Linked DNA regions of Homo sapiens: region 1 is linked to region 2. Evidence: promoter capture Hi-C in 16 types of primary human blood cells and fetal thymus (Javierre and others, 2016). All regions are on one chromosome and are shown on one strand. Each heading gives the region's core, a stretch centred on a gene start or on the middle of the fragment in contact. The rest is flanking DNA. Distances are from core to core; before and after follow the strand shown.

Region 1 (4,050 bases), core at 963-3,462, 210 kb before region 2:
TGCCATTGTGTTCTTATCTTTCCTGAGTAATGGGAAGCTTTAGTCTGGAAGTTGCTAATCTTGCTAACACTAAAAGGCTTTCTCCCATTAGCAGCTTCTGTGTTGCATTAATAATCAGAAAGTAATAAAGAGACCGACCTCAGCTGTTCGGTCTCCCCTGAGATGAGGCCCCAGCTTCCCTCTTATCCCCATGGTCCACTCTAATGGTCTTGCCTATATTAAAGTAATAGAGTGAATAATAAGATAAGTGCTGTCTATTTTATCAGAGTCTAAAATTCCTTCTTCTTTTTGGGGAGGACACCTTTTTTTTTTTTTAAGACATCCAAATTGAAAACTATACCATCAATACTTTTGCAATTGAAATTGACCTGTTTAATTCATATTGTTTTAAAAATGTAAGCGTTGACTATCAAGCACAGGAAAAAAATGTTTTAGAAAAAATAAATCCCTCCACCTTTCTTGGAAGAGTTATAAAACAGATAACTCTCCTAGGGATGTCTTCTTGTCCTTTTTTGAGTAAATCAAATTACTCATCTGAACAGCAGTAAACTAAAGAAAACTAAAGATCTTTGATTTTATAAGTATGAAAAACTTGTCAATAAACAAAAAAGAAATGAAGAGAAAATAACATATTAAAACTAAATAAGTAAGATTGGATTTGACAGGTTCAAGGTGCATGTTAATAAGTTGTCTTTGTTGTTTAAAATGTTCATAAAGACAGGAACTAATGCTGGGATTAATTGCTTATGTTCTTTTTCTGTTGAAAATGTTCTTTTGCAGAAGTGCACTTCTTAAAGGTTCCCTTGATTTAAACATCTGTTTTTAAATGTATATGATCTGTGTATGGAATTATATTATCTATGCGGTAGTTAGTTGATTGTAATTTTTCATTTTAAAATAAAACTACTTTTTCTTTCAACTATATATTTTTAACTGGGAAAACAGGTAATTCACCTTGAAAGTGTTGCTCATTCCTTGTACTCAAATACTAGAAATTTTTTCTCAATTTACACTGTTGTATCCTGATTTTGAAAGACTAACTTTATAATTAGGTGATATATTGCCTATTTTTGCACTTGTAATTTAGAGGAAAAAAGGACCAATATCAATCATCATTATCAGTGACTAAACAGTGACTCAATGTATTTTTTTAAAATAAAATATATGTTCATAACCCTCTAACAATGAATCACTGTGATTAGCTCTATGCAATACTTATGTAAGATTCAGTAAATGACAGTAAAAAACAACTAAAAACTATTTTCTAAAAACTTATAATCAACATACTTTTTCTTATAAGTACTTAACAGTTTGAGGGGAAAAATGGGGGCATTATCTAATAAATCAGGGATGCTCATCTAAATTTTTAAAAATTATACATGAAAACTTTCTTTGAACGAAAAAGTCCATAATCTGGAAATAAGAAAATGCTAAATATGTTTCAGTAAAATAGACAGTAGATCTCTCCCTCAGAGAGGTGAAAATTTAACTCCCTTTTAACTAAATAACTCTTTCATATGGTCTATTAGGCAAATAATTTTGATGAATCCAATAAACTCACATGCTTTTTGTTTTATTTAGCATGCAAAATGCAAACGTGTTCACCACATACCAATGGGAAACATATTATTGTTAGAGTTGTCTTTAAATTGGAGGAAAAAAAAGAGTTGCTTTTGACATTCTTATGAAGCTTCAATAGCAGACAGGTCCATTGGGAAAGTAGCAGCTTTAATTAAAGAATTGTCCTGGAGTTGTAGATATAATGCACAATTACCTGAATTCCTTTTACTGTTTTTCTGTCCTACAGTCCATGAAGGCTCTGGAGAAACTAGTCAAAAGGAGACATCCACCTGTGATATTTGCCAGTTTGGTGCAGAATGTGACGAAGATGCCGAGGATGTCTGGTAATATGCTGTTTTTATTCTTTTAGACAAAATAATGACAGTGATTAATTTCTTTTTAACACCATCAACCATTCTGCAACAGAAGACATTGTCTGCATTTTTATTTTCTTATTCAGTTCCCAAGTGAAAAAAAAAATGAGGGCAAGGAATTTCTGGAACTGGATTAAGAGGTGGGCCAGCCAAGCAGCTATCCATGGCATTACTTGATAAGGCACACTAAAATATCATTGAAGCCCCCCAAAACTGTCAATGTTAGGATATAGAGGGAAAAAAAAGTCTTATTTACTAGAATATCTTTGAAAAAGTATCATCAGAGCCAGGTGTGATGGCTCAGGCCTGTACTCCCAGCAGGCCTGTACTCCCAGCACTTTGGGAGGCCAAGGCAGGAGGATCGCTTGAGGCCAGATGTTTGAGATCAGCCTGGGCACAAAGTGAGACCCACATCTCCATAAAAAAAAATAATAATAATTAGCTGGGTATGGTCACACTAGCCTGTAGTCCCAGGTACTCAGGAGGCTGAGGAGGGAGGAACACTTGAGCACAGGAGGTTAAGGCTACAGTGATCTGTGATCATGCCATTGCATTCCAGCCTGGGCCACAGAGTGAGACTTTATCTCAAGATTTTTAAAAGGCATCATCAGGCAGCAATAGATGATCAGACTTAGTCTGTTTGGGTTTCTATAACAAAATACCATAAACTGGGTAGCTTATAAACAAAAGAAATTTATTCCTCACCATTATGAAGGCTGAGAAGTCCAAGATCAAGGCAGATTTAGTGTCTGATAAGAGCTCACTTTCTCTTAAAATAGCCTTCTTCTTACTGAAGCTTCACATGGCAAAAAGGGCAAGGGAGGTCTGTGGAGCCTGTTTTATAAGGGCACTAATCCCATTCATGAAGGCTTCACCCCCATAACCTAATCGCCTCCCAAAGGTCCTACCTCCCAATACTATCATCTTGGGGGTTAGGATTTCACCATATGAATCTGGGGAGGGGGACAGCAACATTCAGATCATACCAGTTGCTAATCTGACTTCTAAGATGATGGAGTAACTACTCTTTTAAAGATATGTTCATCAGATAATGAATAATACTTATTATTTTGAATGGGTGCCAACATTTTAGCTTTCTACTGTATTCGTCCCACCTTAAGCACATTGAAAAGTGAATAACTCAAACTTCTGAGGGAGTTCTTTGTGTCATGATAATGAAAAGCAGCAGCCTTTTTTTATTCCTCTCCTATTCTCTCTTCTGCTCCTCCCCTCCTCCTCTTCCTCTTCTTCCTCTTCCACTTCCTCTTCTTCTCCTCCTCCTCCTTTCCCTCCCTGTCTTTCCCCTTCTCCTCTTCTTTTCCTTCTCCTTTGTCTTCATCTTCTTCCTATTATTATTATTGCTATTATTTCTCTCTTTTTCTTTTTTACATATACCTCACCCCTTTCAGGAAAACATCTGGCTGCTCTTTATTTTCTGCAGTATGTAGACTGTGCTTGCCTAGAGCAGTTAACCATCATTTTGATCAAACTTTTGTGAGTAGAGGGGAAAATTCATCTAAGGAAAATGAAGAAAAAAAATTAAGACAAGATTATGTGGCAGTAGTAAAACAGTCTGCACTTAAAATATTTTTTAAGTGAAGATTCTATCTGAGCAAATGGTGGTTCTTAGGGTAAACTACGTACTTACAAGTAAACACTGCCTTTGAATAGCCAAGTGAAATAAACATCTATTACTAAAATCAGACAGCAGTAGAGTTTTCATGCCTGTCAAACACTTCTAGCCAATGGGCAGCTAGGAGCCGAGTGAGAGAGTCTATGCACTGGTTTGACCATCTTGAGGTAAACAAATGTATGTTTTTTGTTTTTTATTGAGACAGAGTCTCGCTTCTTTTTTTTTTTTTTTTTTTTTTTTTGAGATGGAGTCTCACTCTGTCGCCCAGGCTAGAGTGCAGTGGCACGATCTCAACTCACTGCAACCTCCGCCTCCCGGGTTCAAGAGATTCTTCTGTCTCAGCCTCCTGAGTAGCTGGGATTACAGGTGCGCACCACCATGCCCGGCTAATTTTTGTATTTTTAGTAGAGATGGGGTTTCATCATATTGGCCAGGCTGGTCTCAAACTCCTCACCTCAGGTGATTTGCCCGCCTCGGCCTCCC
Region 2 (4,384 bases), core at 928-3,427:
AGTCAAATGTAAAAGGACGTCGTGTCATGATATCATATAATTTTGTTAGAAAATTATGCTTCTTAAAATCAACACTTGATTCATCCTTTATTCTAATATTTAACACATTTTTGACCAACTAAATTTTATTAAATATAAGGTAAATTAATTTTAATAATGTTCTTACTTTTTTAAAAGATAACATCTCAACCAAACCTTCTTTTCACCTTTTTTGGTCTCTATTTTTAAAGCATTTGCTTTAAGTGGGTTTTGGTGGCACCAATTATCTGAAGAAATTGAAGGCCTCTGTAAATATCTTTAGTTCATCTTCCTAACTGGCAGCTATACTCATTGAGAGCAGGGTCTCCGTCATGCTTTGCCAATGTCTTCTGGATAGTGCTTCATGCATATAGCAGAAGGCAGAGATTCAACCAACGTGATAACCAATGGCCTGCTGATTGATTGGCTTACATGTAGGTGTTACTATTGACGAATGGCATTGTTCCATTATCAATCCCTGACCTGGTATGAGCTGGCATTTGTTCGTCTCAAAATTGTTCATAGAAGGCCTATTACAAACTTCCTGCTGAAAGCACTTTCAAAGGCTGGATACGTTTAAAATCAACTCAAGCATGTAAAGCCATTTTAGGAAAATAAGCCCCACATCCCAAGGTTCAGCTGAGGAGGGCCACATTTGAGAACAGGTGTGCCACTTCACTGAGCAGGAATTTTAAAATGTCAAACATTAGAACCACTTGAGAAACTCCAACTCAGCCTGCCAACAGACACTTCTGGGCACGTGTCAATAAATGCCTTGCAGAGATGGGCATTTGAGAAAGTCTCTCCTCACCAACTCAAAGTTAGTTAAAACAAATCATCACGGTAGGTTCTTAAAAAGACCACATTTTATTTTTCCTCAGTCTCACTTCTTGAAAAAAACAATCATTTTTTTAAATGTGGTCATTCAAAAAGTTTCCATATATTACATAACAGTCATAACAGCAGTATTACTTTTTTTAAATATCCCTGAAGTTCAATCTCTTTTAACTTATTTTGTATCTGCAACTGCAAGAGTAATAAGAACTGAGCTGTTTTCCTTATCATTATCAGAGTTAGTCCCATTCCTTTGCAAATGAGAAACTAATAATACAAACTTGGCTGCAGTACCCTTTAAACTCTATGCCTCCCAGTAGGACACCCGGTGTTCTGCAACCCATCAGTCAGTTCTAGGGCAAATGCAAACAATACTTTCCGTTACAATAACTTGTATCCAGGAAAAAGAAACAGGCACCCTGTTGCATCTGCAGCATAGCAGCCAGAGAAAAGTTTACCAGCTTTAGCCAATTGGAAGCTGTGGAGCTGGGCCAAGTTAGCATGTTTTTCTCCGCCTCTAGATGAAGTCATGATTGAAATATGACATTGAAAGGGAAGGGGAACAGGAAAGAAAAGCTAAACCTGCAACAAAGTGTCCTGTGCCCAGAACGCGGTTAGGAAGTGTGTGCATACGTCTGAACCCTAAATGGTTCTCAGTTCTGTAAACTTCTCCTCCCACTGGGTGGAGTAGGGCCTTTAAGAGCAGCTGGAATGCAGTTCCCCTGATCAGCGTAGCCAGTTGTTGCCTGTCTGAACCTCTGCCAGTCCTGGAGACTGGTGCCCTGAGCTCCAACCAGCGGGCCTCATCCTACACCCTCACCACCGCAACTTCTCACCCGAGCAAGAAGCAGCTCCCAGAGAGAAAGAACGTTCCCACCTGCCTAGCCATGGGAGAGGACGCTGCACAGGCCGAAAAGTTCCAGCACCCTGGGTCTGACATGCGGCAGGAAAAGCCCTCGAGCCCCAGCCCGATGCCTTCCTCCACACCAAGCCCCAGCCTGAACCTAGGGAACACAGAGGAGGCCATCCGGGACAACTCACAGGTGAACGCAGTCACGGTGCTCACGCTCCTGGACAAGCTGGTGAACATGCTAGACGCTGTGCAGGAGAACCAGCACAAGATGGAGCAGCGACAGATCAGTTTGGAGGGCTCCGTGAAGGGCATCCAGAATGACCTCACCAAGCTCTCCAAGTACCAGGCCTCCACCAGCAACACGGTGAGCAAGCTGCTGGAGAAGTCCCGCAAGGTCAGCGCCCACACGCGCGCGGTCAAAGAGCGCATGGATAGGCAGTGCGCACAGGTGAAGCGGCTGGAGAACAACCACGCCCAGCTCCTCCGACGCAACCATTTCAAAGTGCTCATCTTCCAGGTCAGTTCCCCCTATGCCTCCTTACAGGCGGGCTGGAACTCCTTATCATTCTTGATCTCGCTCATCCTGGCTCTCACAGCCATTTTTACATTTGTCCTGCCTGTCAGGGATCACACATACAAGGCACTGTCCCCTGTCTGCCTGCGGAAAGCAAATGTGAAATCTTCACACAGGGGTGGGAATTTCCCAGGTCACTACAGACTAATCCAAAGAAGATGTCCCCGGGCTTAGTAGGCCCCGGGTCATTTGTCAGGGAGCACCTGGATGCACTCTGTACAGGTTGGGAAGATGTGCAGGTGCGTGCACCCTAGTCAAATTCATTTGTCTCTTTGCATTAGGAGCTTAGGGCTCTGGCTGCAGCTGTTAGCTGGACAGGGCAAATTAATTCAGTGGCTGTTCATTAACTCTTAGTGGAAATGAAGTGATCATGTGAGGTATTTTGTGGTTTTTTTAACCAAAAAGTCAAACTATCCCTTTATACAAAGGCTATCAACGTTTTGGGGACCAATCAAATAGAGGATTGATTCCATTAGAGTTAGCCTTGTTCTTTTAAGACTTTTTTGGGGCAAAGCAATCTTGTGGAGTTCTTTTCTAGCAAATGCACTAGAAAAAGAGAGTACAAACACACTAGACGTGCCTCTCCTTGTTCAGAGAGACCACAACTGTTAAGTAAAATAAAAGGAGTGTTATCAGTTATAGTCACAAAGGCTAGTCTTAAATGTTTCTCCTTCAAACGGTTGCCTTAGAATAAAAAGGCCACTTAATTTTTTTTAATGCATCAATGATGCAATTAATGTAGCAAGAGGCTATCTGGGGACAGGGAGATTGCGTGGGGCTCTTGTTCCGCCAAGTGGTGGGCATTTGTGAATCCCAGGGCAGCCCTGCCTAATGCTGGAAGCCCTTCCGCCCAGTGGAATCCAGCCAGCACAGAGCCCAGGAAGCGATTGCCATCCTCGCTCCAGGGCTGTCTCGTTGTGACCATATGAATAGGAGAGGATTTCAAAGCCATGGAGGGGAGAGGCTATAACCAACAGTTTGATTGTGAAAGGCACACAGGGAAAGCCTTCATCTCCCAAGAGAGATTTAGAAATTGGGATTTAAACCGAGGGAGTCTTCTTTTTCAAAATGAATCTGCTCTGCCAAGTTAGAAGCCTTCCTACCCCCATAAAAGGAAAGACTCATCTCGCTGCTTTTTTGTCCTCCTCAAATTGCACTTGAATATTGTAAAGGTTTAGGGAGCCTATGTCCTCCTCTACCTTGCAGGCTTTTGCAGCTGAAAACTTTTCAGCTTTTAATGCAAATGCAGTAGCTTTTCATGCACCAGATGAATTGAAAAGAGATACTGTAACTGGGCCTTTCTTAAGCCATATGAGATCCTTACTTTATTAGCCTAAGAGATATTAGAAATCTCAGCTCTCAAGCCATTTCTAAATTAAATACTGATCTCCAAACAAAACCAAACATGTACAGACCTGTTTAAGTCTGAGACACCAAAGGAAATTTTCCTGCTTCCAGTATGAATCAGGCAAATTATCTCTTGTCCCATCCCTCAGTTAAGGAGGAGGAAAAAAGTATTTATCTTGTAGAGGAAAGTCACAATTCGTCAGGATTGGGTTTTGTTTTGTTTTGTCATGGATGTTCTGCAGATGTTGGGGGGAGGGATGGAGAGGATATGCTAGTAGAAATTCAGGAGAATTATAAATCTGACATTAAAAAAAAACTGCTTGGGAACTTAAAGGCATATGCTGTTGTGAGGGTCTGACATGGTCTCCTGTTTTGTCACATTGAATTGACAGGTGTGAAATTGCAGCCAGATATGGTAGAAATTCTCCATATAGTGAGTAAAAGCTGAAACAGGGGTGCTCAAGACCAAACTGGAAGCTAAGAATATCCACAGAAATGTGCTCGGACTCCATTCTGGGCCCTTTAGAAAACAATCCCCAAGGACACCTTTAAAGAGCATTTTAGGAGGCAGGAAACTAGAGGCAAGTGACTGGACCTTTCTTAAGCCGTGTAAGATCCTTTATTAGCCTAAAGGATATTAGAATTCTCAACTCTCAAGGCATCGCAAGATGATTGTTTTGTATAAAACTAATGCAAGCACAGTCCCTCAGTGGACTCTCTTGTTCCTTCTAAAAGTAGCAGTTTCCCCAGAGTAGTAA

What was found. Contacts are between HindIII fragments. The CHiCAGO score rates a contact against its expected background, and 5 or more counts as called.
Region 1: a contact is called between a fragment that was not itself captured here and the fragment with the promoter of CAVIN2-AS1 in region 2, in 1 of 17 cell types (megakaryocytes). The highest score is 5.6, in megakaryocytes.

The regions. Positions count from the first base shown.
Region 1 is chr2:192,055,533-192,059,582 of GRCh38, reverse strand. It overlaps TMEFF2 (transmembrane protein with EGF like and two follistatin like domains 2), which reads left to right. Exons shown (of 10, transcript NM_016192.4): 5 at 1,808-1,904. It overlaps CAVIN2-AS1 (CAVIN2 and TMEFF2 antisense RNA 1), which reads right to left. Exons shown (of 4, transcript NR_187184.1): 4 at 1-4,050. Among named protein-coding and RNA genes, the nearest start is that of TMEFF2, 140 kb to the left of the region's middle. The HindIII fragment of the contact is 1,040 bases long and covers 1,693-2,732 here.
Region 2 is chr2:191,844,281-191,848,664 of GRCh38, reverse strand. CAVIN2-AS1 (CAVIN2 and TMEFF2 antisense RNA 1) reads right to left here and starts at 2,177. Exons shown (of 4, transcript NR_187184.1): 1 at 1,894-2,177. CAVIN2 (caveolae associated protein 2) reads left to right here and starts at 1,577. Exons shown (of 2, transcript NM_004657.6): 1 at 1,577-2,222. The coding sequence starts at 1,740. RefSeq lists an enhancer at 1,364-1,872. The HindIII fragment of the contact is 13,325 bases long and covers 1-4,384 here.